2 separate regions of the Homo sapiens genome follow, and region 1 is linked to region 2. Evidence: promoter capture Hi-C in human tissues and cell types (Jung and others, 2019). All regions are on one chromosome and are shown on one strand. The core of a region is centred on a gene start or on the middle of the fragment in contact, and the rest is flanking DNA. Distances in the headings are between cores, read along the strand shown. Region 1 overlaps MAPRE2 (microtubule associated protein RP/EB family member 2). Region 2 holds the start of ZSCAN30 (zinc finger and SCAN domain containing 30).

Evidence for each region. The method cuts DNA at HindIII sites, captures the fragments that hold promoters and counts their contacts. A contact is called where the count stands out against the background at its distance.
Region 1: a contact is called between a fragment that was not itself captured here and the fragment with the promoter of ZSCAN30 in region 2, in 1 of the 25 tissues and cell types used here (dorsolateral prefrontal cortex).

The regions. Positions count from the first base shown.
Region 1 is chr18:35,080,475-35,084,089 of GRCh38, forward strand. All of the region lies in intron 2 of MAPRE2 (microtubule associated protein RP/EB family member 2), which reads left to right. Among named protein-coding and RNA genes, the nearest start is that of MAPRE2, 41 kb to the left of the region's middle. The HindIII fragment of the contact is 4,180 bases long and covers 1-3,615 here.
Region 2 is chr18:35,288,963-35,292,207 of GRCh38, forward strand. It overlaps ZSCAN30 (zinc finger and SCAN domain containing 30), which reads right to left and starts at 1,267. Exons shown (of 4, transcript NM_001112734.4): 1 at 1,122-1,267. It also overlaps the pseudogene ZNF271P. RefSeq lists an enhancer at 1,384-1,543. The HindIII fragment of the contact is 7,442 bases long and covers 1-3,245 here.

The sequences.
Region 1 (3,615 bases), core at 288-2,787, 210 kb before region 2:
CGTCCAGCCTGTCTTGCCATCATTCAGTGTAGGGCACTAATGGGCAGTCTGTACATGGAAACATCTGAAATATTAGCAGGCATCTGGTTTCTACACAGTTAAGATAATCAAGCCAAACATCTCCAAATTCTTCTGCTCTTCAAAAGAAAACATTTTTCCTAACCAATTTTTTTCTGAATTGTGTTTTTAAATTTCTAGTTTATCAGACATGTAGACACTATTAAAAAGGAGTGTCAGAAATCACTGTCAAATGTTTGGGCATGTTAGAATTGCATACCTGGAAACAGAATAATGAAATTGCTTGGCAACTCGTAAAGACACCATCATTTTTCAGATTGCGTTTTTTTTTTTCCCACCCTGAAACCATTACGTAATTCTGACAAATAGCAAATTACCTGTGTTTGTCCCCTCCCTCCCAAGGGTGTGTTCTTACCCAAATATTAATACTCATAAGCTTTTTATGACCAAATTATTTGACATGAGAAGCATATAAATGTGAAACTAATGCGAGTCCTGTTTCCTGCAGTTTCTCTTCGCATTCTGCATGAGGAGGATCGTTCTCCATTTTCATTTCTTCTAGATTACATTTGTATGACAGCTCATGGAAGAACTTTACAAAAGTGTAGAAGGAGCCAAATTTTAATGAAAAGATGTACATCAACTTTAAAATTGCGCAGAATTGTGTTAAAATCTACTATTTAAAAACCTCACAGAAATCTTTTCCTGCTTCTTTTTTTTTCCAAAAATTATTCCATTCTTTTATTTCTACTGTGGTCATATGATTGAATCCCTGAAGTAAATACTGTGCATTCTTCAAACTGATTTGGGATCCTTCTGATACTAGAGTGTACCTAGAAAGCAAAGTATATTTTGGGATTAACCTGGGAAATATAAAGAAAGCAACTCATAAAGAACAATATTCTGTTAGTATCACAGTCTGCACGAATGTTATGTGGTGCCTGAATGTGAGTTCCTCTCTGTCTGTAATTGCTGGAGGCTTCCTTTGGTGCCACACCTGGCCTTCTGGGCTTTCTCTGGACGGGACTCTTTTCAGGGAGCTGCCGGGGAAGGAGCATCCTCCTCTGGAAAGTGGTAATAGGGGATGTTATTGGTGTAGATGAAAGCTAGAGGACTGGACTGGGGAGAGTGGCCATAAGTATGGAGTTCTCACCTGCAAGTCTTGGGGAGAGGGTGAAATGGCTGAAATCTGGGGAAGAATCCTGGAGCTTCTAGTCTCTAGTGCCAGGGATAGTGACCTCAGCCTCAAAATGAGCAACTTGAGAAAGGGGCGCATTGTGTAGACGTGGACCGTGGGTTTGCGCTGGTCCACTCATACCAGTATATTTTACCTTATACTAAAAGCCTCTCTGTGGGCTGCCATACATAGAGTTCATGTAGTGGCCTGGCCTGTATAACTGTTGATAGTATGATGTGGGTAATGGTTCAGTAGAAATTCTCTGAGAAAATGGGGAAAGGGATCAGCTTTAGGTTTCTTACTTGCAATTTAATTTGACCTAAAAATACATACGTTCTGGGCCGGGCGCGGTGGCTCACGCCTGTAATCCCAGCACTTTGGGAGGCCGAGGCGGGCGGATCACGAGGTCAGGAGATCGAGACCATCCCGGCTAAAACGGTGAAACCCCGTCTCTACTAAAAATACAAAAAATTAGCCGGGCGTAGTGGCGGGCGCCTGTAGTCCCAGCTACTTGGGAGGCTGAGGCAGGAGAATGGCGTGAACCCGGGAGGCGGAGCTTGCAGTGAGCCGAGATTGCGCCACTGCACTCCAGCCTGGGCGACAGAGCGAGACTCCGTCTCAAAAAAAAAAAAAAAAAAAAAAATACATACGTTCTGAAAATTAGAACTTAAAAATGGCATTCTCTAAAGACGTTTGTGCCCAGAAATCAGCATTGGTTTGCCTACCAAATTAGTTAAGCTTCTTCTTTTCCTGGCATTTAAAGCCTTGAGCAATCTAGCTGCATTCCACCTTTCCAACATTTATCCCCACAGCCTCCCTACCCATAACCTGTATTTCCTCAAACGCACGTTTCACTTATATGCCCTGATTCCTTGTCTTTGCTTGGAGTATCTCCTTTGAAATTCATATCAAATGCCACTTTGCCCTATTCTTCCTGATCACATTCAACAAAATGTGAGCTCTCTCTCTCTTTTCAATGATCAGACCTTTACAAAGCCTTACGCTCATTGAGTACTTGTTTTAAGTCTTCAGCATTCGGAGTTAAGCTCCTTGGGGACTGAAATGATCATGCAAGTTTGGCTTGATTTTATGTGTTTGATAATACTGATTACTCTTTGTTGTTTTTTTATTGGGCAGACTTTGAACTAACTGTATGGAACTAATATTTATGTATCTATATTTATAAATATTACTAATATTTATGTATCTAGGCCATACAGTTTAGCACTTATAGTTGTTTTGTATTTTTGCTGTTTTTCCATGTGTATTTCTCCAGACTCTCAAGACTAAGTTACTTGGTTCTTATTAAGACTAAGGTCATATTCCTCAATAAGTATTTGCTGGTTTGTTTAACATTGCTAAATAAACAAAGTGACATCTCTCCATGCCACCTACAGATGGGCATTTCTTTAGAGGTGACCTATGACTACAAAAATTAGATAAGATCTCATATCTTTTCAGATTCTTACCTTCTACTCAAGCTCTTCTTAAGTCTTACCTTAAATTTAAGTCTTACCTTAAATTTGACCTTACATATTTAATCAATCCTTTAAAAAATAAAGCACCTTTTTGTCCATTAAAGTAGAAGGGTAATACAAGTGTGTGAGAATACGTGAGTGCACATGTGGAGAAGCTATATCCCATGATATTAGAGCTTTATGAAACTTTCTATTTTCATGACCCTAATGAGAAAACTGACTTCTTCAGAATGGGTTTCATATGTAACTTTCGAACTTGTTTTTCATTTGTAGTAAAAGCTTTTTATGTCCCCTTTGCTCCTCTATCTGGAATGTCAAATTCTAACTTTAGCTCCACTCTCAGACTCTAGCCTGTGAGACATCGCACTGCCAGTTTCAGTATCAGCCTCCCTGGAAGCCAGTGACATTTTGTCCTGCACACCATTCCTGCCCTGTGCTCCCAGTGCCTCTCCTACTTCTTCCTTCTTGGCTCCTCTGGAGAAGCCAAATCATATTTTACCAAGTCAGACACCTTATTTTGGTAAAATTTGATGAGCACATTATCCTACAAGAAATCACTGGTGTTAGAATCTAGGCATGAAACTGAGCGCTGGCCACTGCACCATTAATCAGCAGACGAAAAGAAATCTGAAACCAATGAGATATTTTACTTGCCAGTAAAATCTCTATTTTCTAAAATTTACTTTTTAATAAAAATGTTGATACCTAAATCTTAATCAAGGGCTATTTGTTATATAGGTTTTTACTCCATTGAAATTTCCTTTTGAAAGATAGTAGAAAATACTCTTTATTCTTCCATGATGTTTCTATGAAGAAGCACTTTTAAAATCAATTTGTTACAGTAATATTAATATCTGATCAATTTTCTCTACAGCAGGCCTAACATTTAATGTAGTTCTGCAGGCTTCTTAATAAATTCAGATTTAAACATTACATTACTTT
Region 2 (3,245 bases), core at 17-2,516:
TTTGTTTTGTTTTGTTTTGTTTTGAGACAAAGTCTCGCTTTGTCACCCAGGCTGGAGTGCAGTGGCGCAATCTCGGCTCACTGCAACCTCCGCCTCCTGGGTTCATGGGTTCACGCGATTCTCCTGACTCGGCCTCCCAAGTAGCTGGGATTAAAGGCGCACACCACCATGCCCAGCTAATTTTTGTATTTGTAGTAGAGACAGGGTTTCACCTTGTTGGCCAGGCTGGTCTCCAACTCCTGATCTCAGGTGATCCACCTGCCTCAACCTCCCAAAGTTTTAGGATTACAGGCCTAAGCTGCGCCTGGCCAAAAAGAAAGCTGTTTTTTTAAAACTATCTGCACTCCCTACTTGGGAGGGTTGGACTCAAGTTCCCACATCTCTTTCCTCTTACGGTTATATTAAGGGCTTAGTCATACATCCCTAAATTTCATATATCCCAACAGGGACTTGGGCTGGGACAGGAAGCCCTCTTCCTCCACCTCAACTACCACTTAGCCACCCACCATTTTCTCAAACCTCTTCCTTTCCCCACCGGACAGCTTAAACCAAGTCACACGTCTCATTGGTCTCAACAGAAATGAGGTCCCAACTCCTCATTTCCCAAGATATTTCCATGAACACAGCAATATCCTTTCCTACCCTGATTACCCCGCACCCTCCATTTCGGGTCCTTCTCACCCTGATCAGTGAGAATTGTTCTAGCAAGCAAACCTTAAATAGACCTCGTACCCTTTCTAGATTGCAAAGTAGATAAAAATCCAACTTTCCGTTAATTCAGGGATTAATTACTGAGCATCACTTATTTCTTGGGCAGTGGTTCTCAAAATGTGGTCCCAGGACCAACAGCTTCAGGATCACCTGAGAACCTGGGCTGCCACCGCCCCCTCCCCCACTACTAAATCAGCAACTCCGGAGTTGTGGGGCAGAAGTCAGTATTTTAACAAGGCCTCCAGGTGATTCTGATGCGCGCTACTCTTCTGGGGGTGTGAAAAACCAGAGAGGACAGGAAGAAAGTTAGAATTAAAGCATACCTACGAATCAGATAAGCGATAGGGGGAGGGGTGGTTATTTAAAAAACGATAACTAATTAAGAACTTGTATGTAGTAAGAAAACCTACCCTGCCCCAGAGAGCTTTCCCGAAAGATAATGGATTCCGACATTCACCTCAAGAACCGGCAGACAGAGCAGCAAAGGATCTGTCGCTGGCCAAGCAGGTCCCTGGCTAAGGCACTGCTAGGGACAGCTCGCGGCGGTTCGGGGGTTAATTCTCGGCAGCCCTCCGTCACCCGGTGCCCCACCCCCGCCCTGCGCCTGCGCGGTGAAGCGCCATAGAGCTGAGCACTCCTCCCAGATTCCTAGAGCGGACAGGGCGATGGCAGGTTCGCCGGGTGTGAGGCTTCACAGCGGTCCGGTGACCAAGTCGAGGTAAGGGTGATGTCGGCTCGCGGATAGCAGAGGAGTTCCGGGTGATCTTGCCTAACGAGCAGGAAACTGTGCATGGTTTCTCGAGTCCTTGGAGAGTGAAGGCCCCCGGGGTCGCTCCCGGGCACGGAGAGACGATTGGTTCACGGCCTAGTGTTCGGTTTGTTCCCAGTCAGCCCTTGCTGGCCTTGGGTTCAACCGAATGAACGCCAGAAACTCTGTGGGGTGGGGGGAGTCACCAACCGTGGTGCATCCATACGAATCAGCCTACCGTACTGGGAAAGAGCCACCTGAATTTGTGAATGTTGTAAAAGCAAAAGGAAGAAAAATGATCAGTAGTGTCATTTTTGGATAGGAAGGGCAGCGAATAACATAGTGTTAACCACTAGAATTCACTGTAAAATTCCCCTCTCTGCGTTATCTTTCCAGTTATACCTTTTTTTGGTAGCATTAACCCCTAATTTTGTTTGAACATCTCTAGACTTGGAATGGGGAATGTGTGTCTTAAGTGGGTTAATCCCTGGCTCTTGGATGATGGGGAGGAAGCCTAATACATTCTGAGAGAAAAGCAACTGGAAGTCAAATGAGATTTTTTGTTTTCTCCTTCTTTTATATCTTGAGGATTTTTCTGGTGGTCTAGTCTCAGAGATTACATCTGTAGTCAGCACAATGATTCCCTTCCAAGCCCAGTGGTGCCCAGTTGCCTCCAGGTCCCAGACCTTTATGTGGACAAGAAAAGCTTACAGAGGAAATGGTAATTCTCCACTTGCACACTGAGGTGTCCAGTTGCAGCCCATGGAGATCCAGTTCAATTATGAATCTCAGGAACACCACCTTCTGTCAGGTGAGAGGCAGGGTATTATATCTTTCTTAGTGGCTTTGGCGGGGTGGGGAGGATGAGGGGGTGTCACTCTATGCTAGTGTCTTCAAATGATCCCCCTTAACTCTGTTAGGCAGTATTACCTCTTTAGTGTACCAAGCATAGTCACATGACTTTATTTCAAAATCTGGCGATCAAATTCTCATGCAGCTCTCTCCACTTTTTTAAGACCCCAAAGTCATTCATTTTTCCCTGTATAATGACCTCATTGCTAATCTGTCAGTTTTGGTCATTTTTCTTATCTACTGTAGGGGCATAGTTAAAAGTTCTGGAGTCTGACAACCTAGATTCAAACAGTAGTTTTGTCACTTAACTGGCTCCAGTAAGTTACTCATATATTTTACGATTCTGTTTCCTCACTTTTCAAGTGCATAGTACTTCATACCTTGAAGTTATTTTGAGATTTGTATCTATGTATTACTCCAGAATAAAGAACCCCAAAATTTAGTGACCTAAAACATCAGACTTCTTAAACCACATTATTTCTTATGATTCTGTAGGTCATCAACTTGAGCTGGGTTCACCTGGGCATTTTTTTTTCTCTTGGTCTTTTCTGGGGTCATTTTGCAGTCATCTCAAGGCTGACTCTACTGGGGCCAGGGTCTAAGATGGTTTCAATCACGTTGTCTCAATGTCAAACTGTTAGTGCCGGCTATGGCTTGAGTCCTCATGTCTTCAGCAGGTGACGCTGGACTTTTTCACAGGACAGCTTGTTTCCAGTCAGAGAAGGCAAGCTCTTTTCATACCTATGTTTGTGTTTCATCTGTTAATGTGTTTCATCTGTTAATGTCTCATTGATGAAAGCAGGTCATATGACCAGTTCTAAAGTCATTATAGAAGGAAACTACACAGGGATATGGGTACTGGGAGATAGGATTCACTGGGGTACACTAATACTATAACAGGCCAGGTGCAGTGGCTCACACCTGTAATCCCAAC